6 separate regions of the Homo sapiens genome follow, and all the other regions are linked to region 1. Evidence: promoter capture Hi-C in 16 types of primary human blood cells and fetal thymus (Javierre and others, 2016). All regions are on one chromosome and are shown on one strand. The core of a region is centred on a gene start or on the middle of the fragment in contact, and the rest is flanking DNA. Distances in the headings are between cores, read along the strand shown.

The links. The method cuts DNA at HindIII sites, captures the fragments that hold promoters and counts their contacts. A CHiCAGO score of 5 or more calls a contact.
Region 2: a fragment that was not itself captured here is called in contact with the fragment with the promoter of UTP25 in region 1 in 2 of 17 cell types (total B cells and non-activated CD4 T cells); the score reaches 9.5 in total B cells.
Region 3: a contact is called between a fragment that was not itself captured here and the fragment with the promoter of UTP25 in region 1, in 1 of 17 cell types (activated CD4 T cells). The highest score is 5.0, in activated CD4 T cells.
Region 4: a contact is called between a fragment that was not itself captured here and the fragment with the promoter of UTP25 in region 1, in 2 of 17 cell types (total B cells and non-activated CD4 T cells). The highest score is 5.2, in total B cells.
Region 5: a fragment that was not itself captured here is called in contact with the fragment with the promoter of UTP25 in region 1 in 1 of 17 cell types (total B cells); the score reaches 5.1 in total B cells.
Region 6: a contact is called between a fragment that was not itself captured here and the fragment with the promoter of UTP25 in region 1, in 2 of 17 cell types (activated CD4 T cells and total CD8 T cells). The highest score is 8.0, in activated CD4 T cells.

What each region holds. Positions count from the first base shown.
Region 1 is chr1:209,826,367-209,829,404 of GRCh38, forward strand. UTP25 (UTP25 small subunit processome component) reads left to right here and starts at 1,606. Exons shown (of 12, transcript NM_014388.7): 1 at 1,606-1,804. The coding sequence starts at 1,698. RefSeq lists an enhancer at 1,646-1,695. The HindIII fragment of the contact is 3,327 bases long and covers 525-3,038 here.
Region 2 is chr1:212,788,621-212,791,658 of GRCh38, forward strand. It overlaps NSL1 (NSL1 component of MIS12 kinetochore complex), which reads right to left. Exons shown (of 6, transcript NM_015471.4): 1 at 2,910-3,038. Among named protein-coding and RNA genes, the nearest start is that of NSL1, 1.6 kb to the right of the region's middle. RefSeq lists an enhancer at 1,830-2,608. The HindIII fragment of the contact is 1,488 bases long and covers 1,045-2,532 here.
Region 3 is chr1:212,610,173-212,613,210 of GRCh38, forward strand. All of the region lies in intron 1 of ATF3 (activating transcription factor 3), which reads left to right. Among named protein-coding and RNA genes, the nearest start is that of ATF3, 2.9 kb to the left of the region's middle. The HindIII fragment of the contact is 980 bases long and covers 949-1,928 here.
Region 4 is chr1:212,418,278-212,421,315 of GRCh38, forward strand. No RefSeq gene overlaps it. Among named protein-coding and RNA genes, the nearest start is that of PACC1, 4.9 kb to the left of the region's middle. The HindIII fragment of the contact is 9,263 bases long and covers 1-3,038 here.
Region 5 is chr1:212,277,751-212,280,788 of GRCh38, forward strand. All of the region lies in intron 1 of LINC02608 (long intergenic non-protein coding RNA 2608), which reads right to left. Among named protein-coding and RNA genes, the nearest start is that of LINC02608, 5.8 kb to the right of the region's middle. The HindIII fragment of the contact is 1,924 bases long and covers 568-2,491 here.
Region 6 is chr1:212,033,390-212,036,427 of GRCh38, forward strand. It overlaps INTS7 (integrator complex subunit 7), which reads right to left and starts at 2,168. Exons shown (of 20, transcript NM_015434.4): 1 at 1,955-2,168. The coding sequence starts at 2,048. It overlaps DTL (denticleless E3 ubiquitin protein ligase adapter), which reads left to right and starts at 2,359. Exons shown (of 15, transcript NM_016448.4): 1 at 2,359-2,553. The coding sequence starts at 2,502. RefSeq lists enhancers at 2,019-2,228, 2,107-2,643, 2,389-2,628, 2,644-3,038. The HindIII fragment of the contact is 1,190 bases long and covers 893-2,082 here.

The sequences.
Region 1 (3,038 bases), core at 356-2,855:
CCCTGTCCTCCCATCCCCACCCCAGCCTCTCCGAATCTAATTAGGAATAGTAGATGGTCACTAGAACTGACAAGAATCGCATTCTAATGGTTTTATTACAACTTCTATGGTGTGACACAGTATCAGGGAAAACCCAAATTTCCCACAGTAGCACTCCAATAGCAGAGCTATTATTTTGCTTCTCATTTCTCTCATTTTGGACGCTCCTGTTTTACCGTAAATATTCAAGTGAATTCTGCGGCTTATGATTTAAGCACTCTGTTTCTATAGAACATGGTAGCATAAGTTACTATTAGGAAAAGGATCTCACCATCTTTATCCTGTGGTCTCAAGCAGCCCTGCACACTTGCAAATCCCTAGAATACTGAGTCTACTTTTATATTTTTGCTTTTTCCTGTTTATTTAGGTGTTATTTAAATACATTAAAATTCACCCATTTTAACTGTACAGTTTAACTTTTCTTATGTATACAAGGTGTAACTACTAGCATGATCAAAATGTAAGATGGTTCCTTTACCTTCAAAAGCTTTTCCATCCCCTTTTGTCCGAGTTCAGTTATGAGACACTGGATTGGGTTTCACAGCCTTTTCTAGCATTGACTGGGGTGATTTCAGTAAAGTCACTTTACCTCTCTAGATGTGTTTCTGCTGTTGTTAAATGGGGAATGCTGGAACAGATTTGTTTGCGGGGACTCTTCCAATACTTTCAGAAAATGCGAGAATAGGGTGAGGGTGGGAATCTCAGACTTGTGGGCCCCATGATTGATATAACACACACAGGCGGCAGACCCTAATGGGTAAAAGCATGTGGTTGCATCAGTTAAGGTTTTTCTCTCTTCTCTTGCTAGCGTGTTATCTTTTCTTTTCTTTTCTTCTTTTTTTTTTTTTTCGAGATGGAGTCTAGCTTTTGTCGCCCAGGCTGGAGTAGGCTGGAGTGCAGTGGAGTGATCTCGGCTCATTGCAACCTCCACCTCCCGGGTTCCAGCGATTCTCCTGCCTCACCTCCTGAGTAGCTGGGATTACAGGCGCCCGCTACCACGCCCGGCTGATTTTTGTACTTTTAGTAGAGACGGGGTTTCACCATGTTTGGCCATGCTGGTCTCGAACTCCTGACCTCAGGTGATCCGCCCATCTCGGCCTCCCAAAGTGTTGAGATTACAGGCGTGAGCCACCGCGCCCGGCCGCTAGCGTGTTATCTTTTCTAAGCATCAGTTTCCTTATCTGCAACACCAGGCTTATTAACAAGACCTATCTGTACACTGTTGTGGTGATGAAGTGAGATGTTCAGGCACCCTTAAATGTTGGTTGATATTTTTATTGCAGTATACTGTAAAGTCACTGCATTCGACTATCTCCGCTACTACACATTTACGCAGACTGATTTCCATAACCAAAACACAAGCACAAAGCTCATGCCCCCGACTCACGCAACCCGGGAAGCCCAGCTGCCCACGTTCTAGGGCTCTGAGAACACTAGTGAACGAACTCCCGTGCTTTCAAAGAGCTGCGGTAGGGGGCAGAACCGGGAACCGGATGTTCTAAGCCTGTCGTACGAGCGCGACGTAAAGCGGATCTGCTTTATGGCACCTTGCTTTCGCCGTAAAGCGCAGTCAGCGAGCCCACGTGCTTGTGTTGACTGGACAACTTCCTGGTGGAAAACCGCGACTCTTGCAAGTGGGCAAACTTGACGTTTTCGCTATGGGCAAACGCGGGAGCCGGAGCCAGAGCCAGCTACTCAACACCCTAACTAAAAAGCAGAAGAAACATCTTCGAGATTTCGGCGAGGAGCATCCCTTCTATGACAGGTCTGAAGGGGCGTGGCAGGGCTCCCCAGTCGCCAGAGATGTATCCTCGAGTTTGGTCCTCTGGTCTCCCAGATAGTGCTGCTCCGGCCTTTTCCCACTATTCCCTGGCTCCCGCTGTGCTCGGCCGGGGAGATTCTGGCGCCATCCCGCCGGGAGATGGAGTGCTTCACGGGCCTTTTTGTTGAGCCTGTAATTTCCTGCTAAGAGGCACGCCCGTTGTGTGGGGGAGGATTTTTTTTTTTTTTTTAAGACGGTGTTTCGCTCTGTCGCCCAGGCTGGAGTGCAATGGCGCGATCTTGGCTCACTGCAACCTCTGTCTCCTCCCGGGTTCAAGCGATGCTCCTGCCTCAGCCTCCCGTGTAGCTGGGATTACAGGCGCCCGCCACCAAGCCCGGCTGATTTTTTGTATTTTTAGTAGAGATGGGGTTTCACCATGTTGGCCAGGCTGGTCTTGAACTCCTGACCTCAGGTGATCCACCCACCTCGGCCTCCCAAAGTGCTGGGATTACAGGCGTGAGCCACCGCGCCCAGCTATGGGGGCGGATTTTTGTGTGGTCAGAGATCTAGGAATTTTTTGTAGACACACATATATATATGTATATATATAATTTTTTTTTTTTAAGACAGAGTCTCGCTTTGTCGCCCAGGCTGGAGTGCAGTGGCGCGATCTCAGCTCACTGCAACCTCCGTCTCCCGGGCTTAAGCGATTCTCCTGCCTCAGCTTCCCGTGTAGCTGGGATTACAGGCGCCCGCCATCACACCCGATCAATTTTTTGTATTTTTAGTTGAGACGGGGTTTCACCATGTTAGCTAGGGTGGTCTCGAACTACTGACCTCGGGTGATCTGCCCGCCTTGGCCTCCCAAAGTGCTGGAATTACAGGCGTGAACCACCGCGCTTGGCCTGTTTTTATAATTATTTTTAACTTACATAAAATGATTGTACATATTTGTGGGATACAGTGTGATATTTTGATAACAATACATGTACCCAATGTGTAATGATCAAATCCGGGTAATTAGCATATTCATCATCTCAAACATCAATTCTTTGCGTTGGGAACATTGAAAATCCGCTCTTCTAGCCATTTGAAAATATACAATAAATTGTTAGTTATAGTCACATCATATGTTGTGTGTGTTTTTAAAGAATTTGTTGGGACATCATTGATCTTTGCAATTACGATAAGGAACTAAGTGTATTAGTAGTTGTGGTTTCTCTAGAAATGTCTAGGT
Region 2 (3,038 bases), core at 539-3,038, 3.0 Mb after region 1:
TCCTATTACCCAACAATTTCACTTCTAGCAATGCATCCTAAAGGACTACTCTCATAAAAACTAAAGAGAATGTGCTAGAAATGTTCATTTCAGCACTGTTTGAAATTTTTAAAATTGTGGGAAAAAACCTAAAGTCAAAATTAGAAGAGTTAAATAGACAATATTCATACCACGCAGTACCTAAAAAGGATGAAGACAAGCTCTACGTAACACTAACAAATAATAGACATGTTTGGTTTCAAAAAAGGCAGGTCAATAACAATTCATCAGCATGACATTATTAATGGAGACAAACAAACATAAACAGAGAGAAAGAGGTAAAGCCACAGAAAGGGGGTATAGAAAGTTTACTCTCCCCAAGTACTCTCCAAAATAGTACCTTATGTCCTAGAAGGAAGAGGGATGGGGAAGGGGAACTCAAAGAATTTTGCTTTATGCTACTGTTTGAATTTTTTTATGAGCATATATTTTGTACCCTTTGTATAATTAAAAATAACATAAACCAAATTACTGATAATTATGAGTTAAAGTACATATTCTACATTTCAAAGATTTCATAAAGTAAAATCCTTATTTTATTTTTTGTTTGTTTGTTTTTTGTTTTTTTTGAGATGGAGTTTCACTCTTGTCAACCAGGCTGGAGTGCAATGGCGCAATCTTGGCTCACTGCAACCTCCGCTTCCCAGGTTCAAGCGATTCTCCTGCCTCAGTCTCCCGAATAGCTGGGATTACAGGCAAGCGCCATCACACCCGGCTAATTTTTGTATTTTTAGTATAGACAGGGTTTCACCGTGTTGGCCAGGCTGGTCTGGAACTCCTGACCTCAGGTGATCCGCCCGCCTCAGCCTCCCAAAGTGCTGGGATTACAGGCGTAAGCCATCGCGCCCGGCCTATGTATGTTTTAAAATTATTTTCTAGAATTACTTTCAAGAATTGCTGAGAAAACATATTGTCTTTGTAACATTCATTGCAGACTGCTACCAATACTGTTTTTAAAGAAAATCTGCTACTTAATATGCAGTTTTAAACAGAGATACAAAATAAAGCTTCTGCTTTATTTAAAATAAAACACAAGTGAATTCCTGTGGTAGTCTAAGCCCTGTAAACTTTATCTTATAATTCACTTTATCGTCCCACTAAATAGGATATAATAGGTTAAGCCAAGTTCCTCTTTTTCTGTAAGACACCTAAATGTTTTAAATACCTTAGCATTTCCTAGAATCAGACAAATTCTAAGATTATACAACAAAAGTCTTCTCCCAAAAAACTACTAAAAACGTCCTGAGATATATCCCTATTCTTGCCTTGCTTGCAAGGAGGGAATGACGTAAGAGTCACTATATACAAAACTACATACAGAGTCACAACCCAGGAAGTGTTTCTTCATTCTTCCACTGAACCTTTTTTTTTTGAGATGGAGTCTCGCTCTGTCACCCAGGCTGGAGTGCAGTGGCGAGATCTGGGCTCACTGCAAGCTCCGCCTCCCGGGTTCACGCCATTCTCCTGCCTCAGCCTCCCGAGTAGCTGGGACTACAGGTGCCTGCCACCATGGCCGGCTAATTTTTTGTATTATTATTATTATTGTTTTAGTAGAGACGGGGTTTCACCATGTTAGCCAGGATGGTCTCGATCTCCTGACCTCGTGATCCGCCCGCCTCGGCCTCCCAAAGTGCTGGGATTACAGGCGTGAGCCACCGCGCCCGACCCCTTTTGCCTGTTTTAGAGTGAAAACATTTTCTTTACAAGACTAAAATAGGTTAAAAAAAATTGTGTTGGTTGAAAACTTTACTAAGATCATACATTTGCCTCTATACCACATTTCCCAAGCCTTTCTTAAATATTTTTGCAAAGCCCTGAAGGTGGTAGTTTTTTGGGAACACAAGAAATAAAGGGATTGTGTGCTTCCTTATAACAGGCACCAATCTACTTATATTAGCGGAAAAAATTTAAAAGCTCATAATACCGCACATTTGTGAGTTATGAATGACCACAGTGCAAACAGTAAAAATAAAGGTTAATAGGCCGGGCGAGGTGGCTCACGCCTGTAATACCAGCACTTTGGGAGCCCAAGGCGGGCGGATCACGAGGTCAGGAGATCGAGACCATGCTGGCTAACACGGTGAAACCCTGTCTCTACTAAAAACACAAAAAAATTAGCCGGGCGTGGTGGCAGGCGCCTGGAGTCCCAGCTACTCAGGAGGCTGAGGCAGGAGAATGGCGTGAACCCAGGAGGCGGAGCTTGCAGTGAGCCGAGATCGCGCCACTGCACTCCAGCCTGGGCGACAGAGCGAGACTCTGTCTCAAAAAAAAAAAATAAAATAAAATAAATAAATAAATAAAACATGCAAAAGGAAAGATCAAATGCTGCTTGGGTGAATGGCTGACTTCCAGAATTACCCTTTCCAGGAGAATTCCTCATTGTCTGCGGCTGCATTGTCCAACAGGTGAGCCACTAGCCACTTTGTAGTTACTGAGCGCTTAAATGTAACTAGTTCGAAGATGTGCCGTAAATGCAGCACACCAGATTTGAAAAGCTTAGTACGAACAAAAGAATGTAAAATATCTCATTCATTTGATATTATTACATGTTAAAATACCTTGGATTTATTGGGTTAAACAAAATGTCTTATTTCCATTAACTTCACCTATTTCTTACTTTTAGTTTAAAACTACATAAAGATTAGCTTGCCTTGTATTTTCACTGGACAGCGCTGGTCTAAGTAATTAATAAGACCCAGCTGACATTAGCATCTATTTCTTTCTCCTCTAGCGTTTCTCGAACTGGTTCTACAGTAGCCTGGGGCACCGTTAATTCTGCCAAGGCCTGGCGTGGGATCTTTCTGAATCCTAAGATCCTGGGTGTTGGGTAAGAGGATGATGAGTAAAGAACTGGCTAACTGGTCCCGTACCCACTGCGCATCTCGCAGAGCGGGCTCCCGAATCTCCTCCGGCAGAGCGTCCCCGAGCTTTTGCACGAAGCGGCCGCACAGTTGTAGCATTTCGGTCACAGCCCGCTTCGAGGTGCAGCGCACCCGAAA
Region 3 (3,038 bases), core at 189-2,688, 2.8 Mb after region 1:
CCTTTCCTCCTAAACATTTTCTTTTCCCTAATTTCATTGCATAGGTCACATATGCTTTCTTACAAATAAAATAGTTACTAAATCCTTGATGAACCCAGAAAGAAAAGGAGAGCCAGAAAATCTGGATGTTCTCTCAGTGTACCCCTTTCGTTGTAGGTGACAGTCATATCTTCTGTTCGAAGTTTCTGTCTCTGTAACTTAAAGTGAAGGCAAAAAATTGGTATTACTGTCCCCATTGTTTTGCAGTTAGCATTGGTTGTAGAATAATGCTACAACATACAGGCTCCTGCTTTGAGGATATCCTGGGCAAAGATGGGATGGGGTGAGGATTGCAGTTACTGTCGGAATGGTTTCAGAGACAGCAAAGAAGGCAGCACCCCACGCCCGCAGTGGGGATAAGATACAGCACCCAGCATCTGTGGCAGTGATGGGAGCCTTCTTTTTCTCTCTCTCTTCCTCCTTGCCCTTTAGCCATTATAGAATTCCTTTTTCTCCATGGCCGTTTTCTTCGATAGCCCCTCCCTATCTCAGTCCTGTCAAAGTCTCCTCTGTGATTGGTACCAGGTGCCAGGACTCTTGACCCCTTATCTACCTGGCTAATGGCTCTGTTCTCTGGTTGCCTTGTTGGTTGATCCCTTGAGGCGGTCGATACCTATTGGTGATGGAGCAAAATGAGCAGTCGGTGGGTGTTCAGCAGCTTGGCATGGGCTGGGCCACTCACCAGCTTTATGACCTCAGGCAAGTCATTTTTACCTCCCTGGACCAATGTACTCATTATGAAATGAGAATCTGACCTAGATGATTCTAATATTGAGAGGGTGTGATTTCCATTAGATAGAGTCCATGATTCCTTCCTTTTTAAAATTGGCTGGGCATGGGACAGGGCCAGTGGCTTCGAGTGTTTACCCAGCCAGGGGAGGAGGAAGGACATAGCCAAGATGCCTCAGAAGCTTTCCAAGGGAGAAATGGTTTATATGTGAGAATTGGTTCTCTTTCAAATATGTAATGCAGAAATGCTGGCATCAGCAAATAGTGGGGTGAAACCTACCTGGTCTGTGAAGAACTTGGGGTCAATGAGAGTACAAAAGAGGCTCTGACTGACCTGAATGTCTTGAAGGTTCCAGTTAATTCCTCACTAACAGGGCTTTATTGAATTGATAACAACAGAATGAGTTTTTCCTGAAATGGAGAAGATGGAGTCACAGTAGTAATGACTACCCGGTGTGTATGTAAATCTCATATGTCCTTCTCAACAGCCCTTTGGGGAAGGCAGTTTTGATCTCAAATTACAGAGGAAGAGAATGAGAGGCCCAGAAAGCCTAAGTGATTTGTTGGTGGATGCTCAGCTTATGAGTGGCACTGATAGGCTTAGAAACATTGTCTCTGGCCCTTGATGCCCAGCTTTGCACCTCTTCAAGAGGTCTGGGAGGAAGACCAAGATATGAAGAGTTAGTGAAAGGCCAGTACTGGCTTCCTAGTAACATAAGATGGTTAGCAAGCAATGCTTAGTGGAAAGAGGATGAAAATTAAAAGTGAAAATTCAATGTAGCTGTAGCTACTAGGAAATAAAAATCTGGGAGCTGAATTTCCAGTTAAAGGAATACATGAGTAAACTTTCACTTTCTTGAAAATGATGAAACTGCCAATGATACAACATGATTTCTGATTGGAAATAATCAAGCAGAAACAAAATGCAAGTTCTTGGTAGCAAGTCTGAACAATTTTATGATCAGCATAGAAAGTCAACTCTGATCTGAGGTCCCCAAACAATTTTTTTCAATGACCGGGATGTTTGAGGATCTCAACTTTCTGAAAAATTGTGTGAAGATTTAACTTCATTTCCTTGTGGGGACACAGCCGTAGTCTAGGCTGAATCATACCTCGAGAGACTGAGTAAAGGAATAACTAGAAAGTATCCCGAGAAGTTAAGCTTTAGCCTAGTGCCGAGAAAACCCAAATCTCGACAGATACATCTGTTTTATTTTCTGAAAGGCTTTTAACATTTTTACAACCATTTATGTCCCCAAGGAAGCCCACCCAATGCTTTTCATAAAAGCATTCCATACCACTGACATTCTTCAGCTTCTTTCATTGGGACTGCTGACTTTACATAAGAAGAAGGGTAGGGGGCGGGAGTCATAAACAGCAGACCCCAAGCCCTGAGAGCTCATTAATAAACCTAGTTGGATGGCAAAATGGAACTACACTCTACTGCAGTGGAATTCAAAGTCCCCGTGTAGAAGGGAGCCATCCAGGCCTCCAAACAAAGACCAGCCCAGTGGCAGCTCTGAATGTCATCCCCGAATCACTGAGTTTTTAATAAACTTGGAAAGGGAAGGGAAACATGAATGCATGGGAGAATCTTAAGCCTCTGGCTTTAGAAGGCTAGTTTCTCAGAGTTTATTGCCTGACAGCGACAAGTATCCTCCCAGCATCCTAAGATTATAGGATTAAATTGAGAGAAGAACTTCAGTTCTGACTCATGACACAGGGCTTTGGGAAAAGAATTACATACATAGCCTGGGTTTCTTTGACTAGTCAAGGGCAGATTTCATTGGCCTGGAAGTCTTGCCTCCATTGGTGTATGTTAGATCTCCAGGGGGAGTTTGAAGTCAGGGTATTCTATTCAGAAGCCTTTGAGATCAAAGTGGGTGACCAGCTGCCCTCCTTCCTGGACTCCACAGAGCCTCTGTCAGAGAGCCAGCCCTGGGCTGGAGAGATCTCTGGGAGGCCTAGTAATCATGGAGCTCCTGGCCAAAGAATGTTTTCCAGGGCATATTCATGTATTAGTTCCTCAATTCCTCATAGGATATTATGGGAAAATAGGGCGATTATTACAAGCCCTCTTTAACAGAGGAGAAAAAGCCACGGGGAGGTACAATGATAACACATAATGGAGTAAGTGGGCTTCAAATCTTCATCTTCTGACCTCAGTCTGGGAATTTTGTGGATAAGAGACCCACTTGCTCACACTCCCAGAAGGCAGTTAGCAAGCAGCCTGGGTATGCACCGTGACATAAAGATTAGCAGTTCATTAA
Region 4 (3,038 bases), core at 276-2,775, 2.6 Mb after region 1:
CTCCTGATGGCAGTTACTTTTGAGTTGAGACCTAAATGACAAGAAGGGACTAGCACATGATGGTCTGTGCGGGTACAGGCAGAAGGCACAGGTACAGTACACAGGCCCTAGGCTGAAGCCAAGCAGAAGGCAGTGTCAGTGGAGAGGACCACTAGGGGCATGTAGTGTAACCACCTGATGGGTTCTTCCTGCCTGCTGTATAGACAATATCAATTCACTGAGACCATGGCATTGCAGTAAAGAAAGAGTTTAACTGACTGAGGCCACAGGGAGACAGAGTTATTACACAAATCAATCTCCCCAAGCATTTGGGGGCCAGGGGTTTTCAAAGGTAGTTTGTGGGATAGGATAGGGGTGGGTGCTTGCTATTGATTGGTTGGGGTTGCAATCACAGGGGTGTGGGAAATGGTCCTCCAGTGCACTTAGTCACTGCTGGGTGGGGGCCACAGGAGTGATTGGTGGGTCCAGGTGGAGCCATCAGTGTCGGACATGCAAAAAACCCGAAAAGACATTTCAAAAAGCCAAGCTGAGGTTCTACGATAGTGACGTTATCTGCAGGAGTAATTGGGGAAGTTGCAATGTCTTGTGACCTCTAGAATAATGGCTGGCAATCATTTACATGTATACCTTAGCAGGAGGCATTTTCAGGAGTCAGGGCAAGGGAGAAGCCAGGGCTTTTTTTTCCCTGTTCTCTGCCTCTCACAGTTTCCCTTCCATGGCTCCAGCCCCTGATACAAAGGCTTTTTGTGGTCCTAGCTTCAGCCAGGTGACTCAGGCCCTTAGACTCTAATAAACACCACTGTTGCCTGGCGTGGTGGCTCACGCCTGTAATCCCAGCACTTTGGGAGGCTGAAGCGGGTGGATCACCTGAGGTCGGGAGTTTGAAGCCAGCCTGACCAACATGGAGAAACCCTGTCTCTACTAAAAATACAAAGAATTAGCCGGGCGTGGTGGCGCACACCTGTAATCCCAGCTACTCGGGAGGCTGAGGCAGGAGAATCACTTGAACCTGGGAGGTGGAGGTTGCAGTGAGCTGAGATTGTGCCACTGCACCCCAGCCTGGGCAACAAGAGCAAAACTTCATCTCAGAAAAGATACATAAAAATAAATAAACACCCCTGTTACCCTTCCATTGGCTGGAATGGTGACTTCCTGCTGTTGATACTCTTGGTTGCCTCAGGGTTATTGTCTCAGCTTCTTTCATCACCTGTGTAACTGGCTCCCTGTATTCAGCCATTCTGTTCTATCCAGAATGGTTTCTATTTTGGGAGAGAGAGCATCAGGATAAATAGCTAATGCATGTGGGGCTTAATACCTAGGTGATGGGTTGATAGATGCAGCAAACCACCATGGCACACGTTTACCTATGTAACAAACCTGAACATTCTGTACATGTATCCCAGAACTTAAAATAAAATAAAATTTTAAAGAAAAAGAATACTTTCCATTTTTCTTGCCGGTGACTAACGGATTCCAAGTGCTTTGGAAAAATATGTCTGGGTTCAAGTAGAAAATGACAATCAGAGGGGTGCCTGGAGAAATCCAAGGGCCTATAAGCATGTTATTCATGTATAGACTTATCCTCAGCATCTCAGGGAGGGGGGAGTTATATGGGATCAGTAGAAATTAGAAGGGTCTTTTGGCTTAAAGATGTTCCTTACAAACAGAACTGTAGAAAGAGAAAGGGCCCAAGCAGAGAGGCAGTACAAGGTATGATAGGGATGTTATCGTGACATGCATCAGGAAGGGGATGATATTCAATTCGGGGGTTTTCAAGGGCCTCCTCCATCCCCAGAGATCTTGTGACACAGTGTAATGTAGATACTGCACTTCGAGGTTTACAATTCCACTACCATTGTTAGTTTTAACACAGTCCTATGAAAGAGGCAGGCTGGCATGTTACTAATGTGGAAATTGAGATTCAGAGTAAAGTTAATGCACACAGATCCTGTTTAAGTCACTCTGCACTAGAAACCCATCCTGTTAAATAAGTAAAAGTATAAACATTTGGTATAGTCGCTGGGGGGAAGGATAGCCTGGTGGTTATGGCAGGCTGTAGGACACATGGCCTGTGCTTGACTTGGCTCTGTCACCTACTGTGAGAGCTACGTGAGGTACTTAAGGTCCCCTGACATAGTAATAGTTATGTCCCAGAGTTAAAGTGAGGATTAAAAGAGCTTATAAACATCAAAGTGCTGAAACCAGTACCTGGCATACAGTGAGCCCTTTTCTGGTCTCCTTTGCCAGTTCTACCAACCACCAAATGTTAGGAGCTCAGTCCCCTCTGTCCACATGCACTTCCCTTGGCGATCTCAGCCATTCCTGTGGCTTTACATACAACACCTATGCCAGTGAATTCCAAAATTTCTATCTCCAGCCCAGAACTCTCCCCTCATTCTAGACTTGTATATTTAATTGCCAATTTGATACCTTCAGTTAGATGTCTAACACACATCACAAACTGAACAAGCCCCAAATTGATCTTGATCTTCTCCTCCAAAACCTACTCCTATATCAATAAATGGCAATTCCATCTTTCTAGTTACTCAGGGCAACAACCTCCAACTCACCTCTGACTCCTCTCTGTTTCTTACATCCCAAGTCTCATCTGTCAGCAAATTCTATCAACCACATCTTCAAAACATATCCATAGTCAACCACTTCTCACCACATCCCCAGGCACCACCCTGGTCCAAGCAGCCATCATCTCCCACCTGGATTATTGCAGTAGCCTCCCGGCTTCAGCCAGAGTTATTCCATTAACATTTAAACTTATTCTGTCACAGGTGTCCTAACCAGAATGACTCCATCTTGAATAAAGGCCATATAAAGCCAAAAAAAAAAAAAAAAACTGCTGGGTGACTTTCTCAGGAAGTTAGGCACTCTTTATCACAAGATGTCTAGGGCTGAGGAAACAAGTTAATGGAAAAAGGCATTCTTAGTTTAAAAATGGGTTTTACTCTAATGATGCTATTAATAGTACACCCATAAATTCTCGCTGAAATCAATAGTTACACAAGAGAACATGAATACTAATA
Region 5 (3,038 bases), core at 280-2,779, 2.5 Mb after region 1:
GTTCATTTGTTTATGTTGTCCCTCCTCACTAGATTGATTTTAAGGCCCATCCTTATCTACCTCTTCATTCCTAGTGACTGGCATATTGCCTGACAAACAGAAGGCACTTGGAAAGTGTTTGCAGGGTTGAATTAAAGTGTGGAGAGTTTGCTAACATCAGGTTCTTTCGTCCCACTCTGCAAGGGCAAGGGTATATTGGCATGAGTTGAGCCCCTTCAAACTATGTCCTGGTTCCTCATCTATACAGGTAAAGAAATGGGTAGACAAGGGGCTATTGAACATTTATGATTACAGCCCATTTAGATGGGGCAAAAGATTTCATAGTTATGGAAAGATGATTCAGTGATAATCAGAAAGTATAAATACAGGAGCAGGTTTTCGGGGATTAATAATACCTCTGCTGTATCAACAGCCCACATTCAGTCTATCTGCAAATCCTATATACTCCTCGTCCAAAATAAATCTCCAGTCTAGCCATCTCTACTGCCACTGGCCTAGTCTAAGCTCCTGGTTGACCAACACAATAGCCTGTACAATAGCCCACAACAAATGAGGTGAATCATAATAAGCTTAACTAAAAGAAGTTTAAAGTTAAAAAGCAAAAATGGCAGCAATTGAAAATCATGATGTCTAATCATATCAGTATGTTCTTGTGCTTGCAAAATGGCCAGATAGACAATATGGAATTAGAATTCTTTAAAAAGATCTAGAAAAGTAGATAGTAAAATGGTTACTCTAGTAAAGCAGATTAATAGATCTACCCTCTTACTTAGTTACCTTTTTGTGACAAGAGCAGCTATGATCTACTTATTTAACAAAAAACGCCTAATATAATACAATTTTTATTAACTTTCCTCCTACATTAGATCTCTAAACTTATTCATCTTACATACATGCTGTTTTGTATCCTTTGACCTACACCTCCCTGTTTCCTCTTCCTCACTGCATCCCACTGTTTCATTCTCTGTGTATTTGAACTCCTTTTTTTTTTTTTTAAAATCTACACATAAATGAGATCATGCAATATTTTTCTGTATCTGGCTTATTTCATTTAGCATAATGTCCTCTAGGTCCATCCATGTTGTGGCAAATAGCAGGATCTCCTCTTAGAGGGCTGAATAACATTCCATTATATATATATTATATATATAAAATGTGTCTGTATAATGCATATAATGCATGTGTATATATATATTATATATATAAATAATATCCCATTATACACACACACGTACATACCATTTTCTTTATATTTTCGTCTATTGATGGACATTTAGGTTGTTTCCATGTATTCCCTATTGTGCATAATGCTGCACTTAACATTGGGAATGCACATATCTTTACCAGTGGTATTTCATATTCTTTGGATATACATCCACTAGAAGGATTGCTGGGTCATGAGGTAGTTCTATTTTGAATTTCTTCAGGAACTCCATGCTGTTTTTCATAATAATTGTACCAATCTACATTCCCACCAATTGTGTACTAGGGTTCCCTTTTCTCTACACCCTCGCCAACATTTGTTGCCTATTGTCTTTTTGGTAATAGCTATCCTTATGGATGTGAACTGATATCTCCTAGTGGTTTTAATTTGCATTTCCCTGATGATAGTGATATCAAGTACATTTTCATATACCTGTTGACCTTTTTTTTTTTTTTTTGAGACAGAGTTTCACTCTTGTTGCTTAGGCTGGAGTGCAATGGTGCAATCTTGGCTTACTGCAACCTCCGCCTCCCGGGTTCAAGCGATTCTCCTGCCTCAGCCTCCCAAGTAGCTGGGATTACAGGGACCCACCATAATGCCTGGCTAATTTTTTGTATTTTTTTTTAGTAGAGACGGGGTTTCACCATGTTGGCCAGGCTGCTCTCGAACTCCTGAACTCAGGTGATCCACCCACCTCAGCCTCCCAAAGTGCTGGGATTACAGGCATAAGCCACCGTGCCCAGCACCTGTTGACCATTTTTATGTCTTCTTTAGAGAAATGTCTGTTCAGGTCTTTTGTCCATTTTTATTTTATTTATTTATTTGTTTTTGAGACAGAGTCTCCCTCTGTCATCCAGGTTGGAGTGCAGTGGCACTATCTCGGCTCACTGCAACCTCTGCCTCCTGGGTTCAAGTGATTCTCGTGTCTCAGCCTCCCAAGTAGCTGAGACTACAGGTGTGCACCACCACGCCCAACTAACTTTTGCATATTTAGTAGAGATGGGGTTTTGCCACGTTGGCTAGGCTGGTCTCAAACTCCTGGCCTCAAGTGATCTGCTTGCCTTGGCCTCCCAAAGTGCTGGGATTACAGATGTGAGCCACTGTGCCCAGCCTTGTCAATTAAAAAAAAATTTTTTTTTTAGGTTATTTATTTTTCTGCTATTGAGTTGTAAGAGTCCTTTATAAATTTTGGATACTAACCCCTTACCAGATATGTGGTTTGCAAATTTTTTTTCCATTCCATAGGTTACCTTTTCATTTTGTTGATTGTTCCCTTTGCCATGCAGAAGCTTTTTGGTTTGATGTGTCCCATTTAGTTTTTTTGCTTTTGTACCCTTTTTGATATAATATAAAAACAAAAATCATTGCCAAGGCCAATGTCAAGGAGCATTTTCCCTATGTTGATTTTAAGATGATTTTAGTGTATGGTATAAAGGTCCAATTTCATTGTTTTCATGTGGATGTATGGTTTTCCTAGCATCTTTATTGAAGAGACTATCATATACGGTTGAATTTATCTCTGGGCTCTCTATTCTGTTCCACTGGTTTATGTGTCTGTTTTTATGCCAGAACTATTCTGTTTTGATTACTATAGCTTTGTAATATACTTTTAAATCAGGAAGTATGATACCTCTAACTTTTCGTTTTTCAGTATTGCTTTGGCTATTTGGGAATTTTTGTGGTTGCAAATGAATTTTATTGTTTTTTCTATTTCTGTAAAGAATGCCACTGGAATTTTGATAGGGACTGGGTTAAATCTATATATTGCTTTGGATAAATCTATATATTGCTTTGGATGAACATTTTAACAATATTAATTTCCTTGCTGGAATAG
Region 6 (3,038 bases), core at 238-2,737, 2.2 Mb after region 1:
TCTGAGCCTGAGATTCACCTGTAAAACACTCACGCCAGGCATTGCTGGGAGGAGTGCAAATGATCACTTACTCTGTGTCTAAGATTGACACCTGATTTCTTTCCTATAGATATAAAATATTTTCATTTCAACTCTTCTTTAAAAAGGAAAAATTGTGGTTTTTTTCTTACAACTGCAAAATTTGAGGAATTAAACCATTCTAGACTCCTCTTCAGTGCCCCATCTTTATCCCTGTTCCACAACCACTATCCTATTGTCAGCATGAGACAAGCTCAGCTGCACCAGAATGGTAGAAAATGTCCTTAGAACTCGTAGGGATATTAGATATTATCCTGACCTGTAACTTTCACTGAGGAATAAGAAAGAAATGTATCAGAATGAGGAGGAAAGTGTTTGAAAAACACATTTAAGGCCGGGCGCGGTGGCTCATGCCTGTAAATCCCAGCACTTTGGAAGGCCGAGGCGGACGGATCACCTGAGGTCAGGAGTTGGAGACCAGCCTGGCCAACATGGTGAAACCCCGTCTATACTAAAAATACAAAAATTAGCCGGGCGTGGTGGCGGGCGCCTGTAATTCCAGCTACTCGGGAGGCTGAGGCAGGAGAACCGTTTGAACTCGGGAGGCGGAGGTTGCAGTGAGCCGAGATGGCGCCACTGCACTCTAGCCTGGGCAACAGAGCAACACTCTGTCTCCAAAAAAAAAGAGAAAAACACATTTAGTATTATACTTTTTTTTTTCAGAGGAGAAAACCCCTAAAGATTTGGTAAGAGAAGGAAAAGTTCAACATAATTTTCTTGGTTGATGGGGGTGCACTAAAGATACTGAGACTCAACCAAAGGAATATCCCATTAGGGGGCTGTGAAATTTTTGTGTTTATCAAAATAAGGTAAAAGCTTTTTTAAGAGCCTGAGAAACTCTTATTTAGACTAACCCACTAAAAATATTCACAGTTTAAAAAATAAACAGAAAAAGAGTCCCAAAAAAGTTAATAGACATGTCCAACTCAGAAAACTGGGAAGTGGCTCAAACCCTTCTGAGTTCTAGTCCAGTTCTCCAACATTATATATTGGCTACGATTAATCAAGATTTAATTGTATACCAGCTGCCGAAATGTTTCCCGTACAATAAAAATCCTCAATATGAAATAAAGGTTTCATATTACTAGTCGAGTTCTTTACTAACAAATTTCCGACCTTGCCTCCCATATCCACATCTAAGAAGGGAGGTATATCTCTTCAGCATTTACTAAATGCTTCTTTTGCATACCATTAAGTCACTTAATACAATTCTGCCGGCTCAATGGTACTGTACCCACTTTGCAGACGACAAGCCGAGGCTAGATGAAGTTAATCATAAAATCAGCGGCATTGAAACTTAACTCAGTGTAACCCCAAAGCTCCCTCTACACCAAGCTGCTCCCTGTACGGCAACAGAACTCCTGGAACTTGTCCGCAGAGAATGAGCAGGGCCCTTGCTTTTTTATGGTCTTGGCCAGGTTTAGCCTGCCTTGTAACCCGCAGGTAACAGAGCTATGGAAATCAAATGAATCGCTGTCAAGTCGGTGCAAGATTACTATTCAGCACATTTCATGAAGACCTGGTCTCAACTGAACAGACTGAAAACCAATTTCACAATTTCTTTGCAGTGTCTCTTAGAAACTAGCCACTGTCACTGCTTAGAAAATCGGGGGACTGCTCCCTCAAGTGGTCAAAACGGGCCTCTCACTAGAGCTCGCTACTTGTTTAGCCGGTATAAGGCCAGTCACACAATCCTGCAAATTTCCCGCAACCTCCCGAAGGGGTCAAAGCCCACGCCCCAGCAAAAGCACAGGCGCTCCCCGCCCAGCGAAGACATGCGCATGCGCCTATCCGTCTTCTCCCAAAGCAACCACCACCTGGTGGCGCCACTTCCCCCCACGCCTGTTTCACCCATTCAGCCCTCTCTTTCGAATACCTTTGTCCAATTCCATAAGGGCAGAGTTGGCATCCAGTTCCTGTTCGCCATAGCCGGCATCTGCCAGGAAAGACTTAGTTGAGTTTGACGCCATGACCCGAATAGTTACTCGACTAGCCTAGTCAGAAAGCTTGCAAACTCTACCCCAGGACCGCCATCTTCCCCCGCCGCCTTCTTGCTGGTTTTTCTTCCGCGCGCTGTCAAGCCCTGTTACGCATGCGCCCTGGTCACCCCGCGGTTTGTCCGCGCCTCTGCTACCCCCTGCGCAGGCGCTCAAGGAGCTCTTGGACTCCAGGTTCCCGCGGCTGGGAGAAAAGGAGGCGGGGATCCGAAGGGGGAAATGACTCTGAGGCGCCCGGACGTCGCTCGGAAGCCAATCAGAGAGCGTGACGTCAGTTTGGCGCGGAGTTTGGCGGCCGGGGCTTACAGTGGCGGGAGTTGGAGGCGATAACGATTTGTGTTGTGAGAGGCGCAAGCTGCGATTTCTGCTGAACTTGGAGGCATTTCTACGACTTTTCTCTCAGCTGAGGCTTTTCCTCCGACCCTGATGCTCTTCAATTCGGTGCTCCGCCAGCCCCAGCTTGGCGTCCTGAGAAATGGTGAGTAACGGTCCCAACCGCTGCTCGGAGCTGGCGGAATTCATTTCCCCCGAAACACACGCCACCTCCGACCAGGGCCGACTCCAATTCTGAACTCAGCTTCTGAGTTCTCCCATGGCAAGGGTAAATTAGTGTTAGCAGGGACTACTAAAGAAAGCTGTACTTTCATCCCCTCGGGACACTTGTAATCGTAATCGGGCTTTTAAAATCGTAACGTAGGCAGGGACGTCGAAATAACTGCCTTCCAAGGCCCCTTACAGCTTACATCTCCATTGCGCGTTAACGGGAAAATGCATGCATTTGTGTGTATATGTTTCCTTCAACGGTTATTTGAGATGCTCAAAACTCCTAATCATTGATTAATTCATTCGTTTGTTGTAGAATCTTAGTGAGCCCAGCTATGTGCTATAGGTATATACCAGTGAATATGACCCGCTGTTAAGGAACTCAGTCAAGCAGAGAAGACAGGATATCTGCTTCTAACA